2 separate regions of the Homo sapiens genome follow, and region 1 is linked to region 2. Evidence: promoter capture Hi-C in 16 types of primary human blood cells and fetal thymus (Javierre and others, 2016). All regions are on one chromosome and are shown on one strand. The core of a region is centred on a gene start or on the middle of the fragment in contact, and the rest is flanking DNA. Distances in the headings are between cores, read along the strand shown. Region 1 overlaps YBX3 (Y-box binding protein 3). Region 2 holds the start of TMEM52B (transmembrane protein 52B).

The links. Contacts are between HindIII fragments. The CHiCAGO score rates a contact against its expected background, and 5 or more counts as called.
Region 1: a contact is called between a fragment that was not itself captured here and the fragment with the promoter of TMEM52B in region 2, in 1 of 17 cell types (naive CD8 T cells). The highest score is 5.4, in naive CD8 T cells.

Annotation. Positions count from the first base shown.
Region 1 is chr12:10,696,621-10,700,062 of GRCh38, forward strand. YBX3 (Y-box binding protein 3) reads right to left here. Exons shown (of 10, transcript NM_003651.5): 10 at 2,469-3,034. Among named protein-coding and RNA genes, the nearest start is that of STYK1, 24 kb to the left of the region's middle. The HindIII fragment of the contact is 1,797 bases long and covers 524-2,320 here.
Region 2 is chr12:10,177,457-10,180,598 of GRCh38, forward strand. It overlaps TMEM52B (transmembrane protein 52B), which reads left to right and starts at 1,576. Exons shown (of 5, transcript NM_001384896.1): 1 at 1,576-2,172. The coding sequence starts at 2,119. RefSeq lists an enhancer at 1,934-3,133. The HindIII fragment of the contact is 29,503 bases long and covers 1-3,142 here.

The sequences.
Region 1 (3,442 bases), core at 172-2,671, 520 kb after region 2:
ATCAATGCATAAAAGAACAATACTATGGCAATAACAAAGTGGTGATTTCTAGTCTCTTTTATCAGATGCCTCTATTCTATACCCCTTTTACTAGAATACTGTCCAAACTAGAGGCATAGGGAGGGATCTGCAAACTAAGCTCCCCGTGTTATTTGACCAGTGTGGATCATTCATTAGAGCTTACCATCCCCATTCTGAAAGCCTGGGTGATTCTGGAGCTAGCTCATCAGTTAAAATGAAATGCTTTCACAAAGCATTTTGGGAAAATCACAAAGCTGATGAATTCTTATTTCTGCTACTGCACAAGATCACATTTCCAGAGATTTATATCAGCACCTGTATCCTTTCTAGACTTTTTCTTATTAAACAAAATGCTTATGCCATAATATACAAAATCAATCTTGAGATTCTTTTCCATTTTTTAACTGAAACTAGCTTCAATCTAATTTAGCTCTAAATTTTTTCTTTAAAATCTCAAAACATGTCTTTATAAACACATTTATCCACTCCACTAAGAGCAAAAAGCTTTCAAAACTTGCATCTTTGCAATAAACACAAGAGCCCTTATAACAGTTACAGCTGACTTACTTGTGATCTGAAAGCACCCATCACTCTTGACACATAGTAGGAGGCAAATACTGATTTGCATAGTGCTATTTTCTGATAGGTGCAGTGCCATCAAATATGAACAACCACAGAGTTAAGTTGTGATTGCCGTATGACAGATAGCCTTCTAGTTAATTTCTGGCTGTGGTCTCACCCCGGTAGCCTGTATTTCTTGATAAAGCAATCCAAGGTCCCTCACCAGTAAAATAACATACTTTTGGCCCATCCTCACATCACATCCAATTTGTGTTATTTCTGTACCTACAACCAGTGTGTTTTCCCCAACTCTGCATTCATCATTCCATTTTATTTTATTTTTTCCCAGAAATAGAATAGCTACCATCCTGAAACAGATGACAGTATTTAGAAGTAAGGATGTTGGGATTATATCAAGCAAAATGTTTGCAATGGCAATTAAGATACCCTCAATATCCCATGATAGAAGGCTAGTACAATTATGGATAGCTATGTAATGGAATGTTATATAGTCAGTACAAATGATGAGAGGACTCTATAGGAAAAATATTAGGTGAAAAAGAAAATCAGTGCCAAAAAGTATACGTACATTTTAAAAACATTTTAAAAAGTATGTTTGAAATATTCTATACTAGAATAGCTTTAAAGTGAGCAGGAAGAGAGAAGGGGAAGTTAGGAAAAAGAAGACTGGCTAAATAGTATAGTTGAACTATCCATAGAATTTTAAACATGGATATGTCTAATGATTGTTTTTAAGTTGTTAACATAAGCACAATTTAAGCTCATTTCCTCTTCTCAAATTTGCATTAGTCGGCCAATCACACACACACATACACACACACACACACACACACACAGAGACTCACACACATGAAATATGTGAAATGGGTCTATTTTTAAGATATGCTAACTGGTTGCCTGGAGGAAACTGGAACCAAGATGGGAGCCTTTTTTAATAGAATAAAATAGTTGATTTTTTTTTTGCCTTGGCCTATTACCAATTTTTACCAACCCTTTTAACTTGCAAGATAATACAAGGTTCTTGAACAGTTCACATTCACCTGCTTGCCATTTATTAGGCCAAGAATGCTCCCTCCACCTGCAATGCTCTTCCCTGCAGATACTCAAATGTTTAATGCCCCTTCACCTTAGGACTCCATTTAAATAGGAGACCCTCCCCACTATTTAAAATCAACATATCCCCTATGATTATGCCAGTCCCTGTCCTCCTACCATGTTTTATGTTTCTTAACAGCACTTATTGCCATCTAAATTAAATTCCATACTTGTTTATTTTCTGTATGTACCTGGTCATTGAAACAATGGTATTTTGTTGGTTTGTTCCATCCTAGCCACTAGAATAATGTTTAGCACAAACCTACACTGGATATGTACTGCTGCAGCAGTTCTGAAAAGTAACTATACGGCACTGACAGCTGCGATAGTTTTTCTCAACTTAGGGGCACCATGGCTGGGAGGGGGAGAAATGTAGTTGTAAAGAGCTCCCTTGTATACCTACAACACAGCAGTTACTGGTAAAAACCTCAGGCTGGAAGTTGAAGGATGTTAGAACTATTAACTCCTTCGTTAATCTAAAGGTCATCACGTCACCTCACTGAATGAAGATTACTCAAAAAGAGACAGTACCAAATAATTCATGCCTACTACTGAACTCAGACATGAACTTGTCAATTTCCAGCTGTACATTTCAACAGGAATCCAATTTTTTATCATCTCAAGCTTATATGCCTAAATTTGTGAAACAGCATTAACTTAACTTTACATTTGGCTTTGAATTTACTATTAATCAAGTCAAGTAAATCAAGTGGTGGAGAAGACAAACACACGCTAAGGTCGGCAAAAATACACTCCCATTAAACATTCTGTCCTCTGAAGGGTAAAAATTTTATTTTTGAGGAATTTCTTACTGCACATTTTCAAAGAGAGTCACATAAGAAAGCAAAAATGTTATCCTCCCCTCATCCTAGAAATAAATAAGAAGGACATAAATTTTTTTTTTTTTTAAATCATGACACTTGGAGGTTTAGCACCAGCATCCAAAATGAACAAAAACGGAAAAAAAAGCATTTACTATATATTTCAGATTTCTTTGGTTGGGGTTCTCCCCATGTGGTATTAATATTTCTTGTTTCAATATATATATTACCAAAACAGTAAAAACCAGGAAAAAAAATAGAAACCTAGCGGTTGCTGAAACTGGAGAGGCTACTCTCTTGTCTTCCGTGCAGGAATTCCCAGGTTCTCAGCTTGCTGGAAAAATTTGTTGACATTTTCTTTTTGTAGTTGTTTCTTAAAGAATAACAGTAAACATTCCAATGTCCAAATCTTGGTTAGTCTTCCACTTTATTGCTTGGATGTTTCTTTGGTGTTGGTTAAGGTTGTGGCCTGCTTTTTGCTTTATTTCTGAATGGTCATTAATTCTTTAGGTCACCTGGGAAAAATTAAAATCAAACTTATAAAGAGTGACAAAGTAACCATGAGTTAAAGAATAAAAAGGCAGAAATTATATGCTTTTCATATAATTAGAAAAAGAGTACTTCAAATGCTCTAAATACAATCACATCTTGTATAGATCTGTAAGCTATATGTTAATTAAATGGAAACTCTCACTTTTTAATAAAGTATTTTTATAAACCAGAAAAGTCAGTACATAAGAGCAAAAATTTTATAAAATTGTATAAAAGAAAATTACCATTACTAATGAACAATACTCAAAATCATTTTAGTGGCTGCACCCTATCTCCTAATATGAATATATCACAATTAGCTATTTACCAAATGTCAGACAGACTGTAAATTGTAAAAATATTTTTTCCCAATATTTAAAATTATTTCCTTA
Region 2 (3,142 bases), core at 326-2,825:
CCACAATCACTCAGCATAATTAGATTTACTGAGCTAGAAAGGTCCTGAAAGGAGGTTTTATTCAATTCTTATGAGATAGATATATCACTGTAAACTAACTTCTACTTTTCTTATCCCAGCCTGGCCAATATGGTAAAACCTTGTCTCTACTGAAAATAGAAAAGTTAGCTGGGTGTCGTGGCAGGTGTCTATAATCCCAGCTACTCAGGAGGCTGAGGCAGGAGAATTGCTTGAACCCAGGAGGCAGAGGTTGCAGTGAGCCGAGATTGCACCACTGCCCTCCAGCCTGGTGACAGAGAGACTCTGTCTCAAATAATAATAATAATAATAATAATAATAATAATAATAATAATAATAATTTTTTTATTAAACATTTGGTATTAAGTAAAAGATCACCTACTTAAGTATAAATCATTCATACAGCATTCTTTTGTTTCTTTTAATATTTTGCTTTTTTGAGGCAGATTCTCGCTCTATCACCCAGGCTGGAGTGCAGTGGTGTGATCTCGGCTCACTGCAACTTCTGCCTTCCGGGTTCAAGTGGCCCTCCTGCTTCAGCCTCCCAAGTAGTTGGGATTACAGGTGCCTGCCATGACACACAGCTAATTTTTGTATGTTTCGTAGAGAAAGGGTTTCATCATGTTCTCCAGGCTGGTCTCAAACTCCTGGCCGAAGTTATCAGCCCGCCTTGGCCTCCCAAAGTGCTGGGATTACAGGCATGAGCCATGGCACCCGGCCACATTTGTGTCTATAGCTTTGTTTCATTGTAAGTATTCTAGGCCAGGCACGGTGGCTCACGCCTGTAATCCCAGCACTTTGGGAGGCCGAGTCGGGCGGATCATGAGGTCAGGAGATCGAGACCATTCTGGTTAACATGGTGAAACCCCGTCTCGTCTCTACTAAAAATACAAAAAAACTTAGCCGGGCGTGGTGGTGGGCGCCAGTATTCCCAGCTACTCGGGAGGCTGAGGCAGGAGAATGGCATGAACCCAGGAGGCAGAGTTTGCAGTGAGCCGAGATTGCGCCACTGCACTCCAGCCTGGGTGACAGAGCAAGACTCCGTCTCAAAAAAAAAAAAAAAAAAAGTATTCTATGCTTTTGCATGTGTGCTTGTTTTTACTCTAACCTTAGGTTTTATTTTCCTGAGTGACAAGACTTATTTCTCAATCACATCACTCCTTAACCAAAGAGAGAGAGAGAGAGAGAAAGAGAGAGAAAGAAGGAACAAAGAAAAGGCAAGAAAGAAAGAAACCTATACATTTGCTTTTTTAAAATTTGGTTTTAAAAAAATGTCTTTCTCAGTTATCTATTTCAATGGGAAGTGAAGTCAGGGAGGAGGAAGATGTCACTGATAACACCTGAAAATTCTAATCTTCCGACTTGATTTCTCATCTTCAAGTCTGTTTTCTCCAAAGATGAGATGGCTTTCCTGTTCACTTGGCAACCTCTCAGTCTTACCCCAATGCTTAGGGATATAAATGACCCAGAACCAGGAGAGTTGATTATCAACATAGTGAAGGGGAGGGTTTCAAAGAGCAAGAAGGGGTTGTTAGTCACACGGAGAGAGAAGAAAGGAGATTAGCAGGGTGACTTTCACCCTGCAACAGTCACGCTGGAGTACTCTGGTGAAGGATCAAGAATATTACCAGTTTTCTGATGAAGAAAGGAATATATTTGGTCACCAGCAATCTGCCTTTGACCATCCTCAAAGCCAAGTTTTTCATCGCTGTCTAGAAAAATACTTCATTCAGAGGACACATATGTCCTCTTTGAATGTCTCCTTTTTGGGAGCAGTAGGAGAAAGAAACTTCAAGATGTAGAAAGAATTAATAGTGTAACGGAAAGAAAGAAGGCAAAAGGAAGTAAATGTGGAGGCCATAGAAATAGTAATAAGAATAAAGAAGAAAAACAGGAAAGAAGAGGGAAAAGCCATAGAAAATAACAGCCAGAGCGAGTAGGAGGAGACAGAGAGAACGAGAGAGAGAAAAGCTGATAAATTCCTGAGAAAAGTTTCTCTTCTTAAGAATTCTAGGTCAAGAAGTAAAATATGGCACAGAGCATTGAAAGGAGGCAACGGATGCCCAGTGCAAGATTCTGAAGAAGCAGGAATTCAGCCCGATGGGAGTCCGAGTTCATGTCGTGGCGGCCTCAGCCCTGCTGTATTTCATCCTGGTGAGTTCAGTGGTGAAAAGGCAGAAAGAGTATTTTTCCCCAGATTAATCAACTCTCAGAAGAGTCTGAAAGGAAATGAACTGCGGGGTGGGGAGACATATACAGAACCCAGGGGGTCATAGGGAAATGAATAAACTACAAAGTTTCCTTAGTATTACGAGATTGCATAGATGCATGTGTGACTGATGGCAATGACAATGAAAAGGGGGACAGAAATTAGAGTGAGCATGGAAACGAGCAGGATTGCCGTGGCACTTTAGAAGTGCCGCTGAAGTATTTTATCTCTTTTAGCATCTTATCACCCATCCCTCAAAATTCCAAACAAATTATGAAAACTAGGTGTGTAATTCCCCTAAACGGAATTTCCCATCCAGGAATTTCTAATCCTGTTCTAGCAGTTTAGGTGCCTCTAGTCTAGAAATAAGAGAGGCAGGGCTCTTTTAAAATATTTTGGGCCCCACAATGAATCAGAAGTCTCTGAGTAATCCATTAGTGGAGAAAAGGGTCACTGGACTGAGGGATTCTAAACAATTGTCACAGGGAAGTTTATAGAGCTATGCCATCTAGCAAGAAGGAGAGCAAATGAAGAAAACTGGATAGTCTCAGATTCCCGTATGGCCCCCGTACAGAGTGGGCTGTATGGTTTGTTTTTTTTTTTTTTTTGCTAATAGAACAGTTAAAGTGGTATCTGAAAATCCATTTTTTCTTATATTTTCTTTTTGCTTCCTCTTCACTCCCTTTGCCTTGTCTTCCCTTCATTTTTCCTTTCTTTTCTCTTTGCAACAAGCCTGAAAAGTAGCATTTTCTCTGCTGAGCACTTTAGGCTTCTCTTACCTTTAGTGAAGAAAGTGAAAGAAAGTACCATGGTTGCGTAGAGGAAACACACGCTTTTTCATCGTTAGTGGCCATTTCTTTCCAATGAAAACACAAACACGGGTTTCTCAAATGTTACCTGCAAAGGCTGGCCATT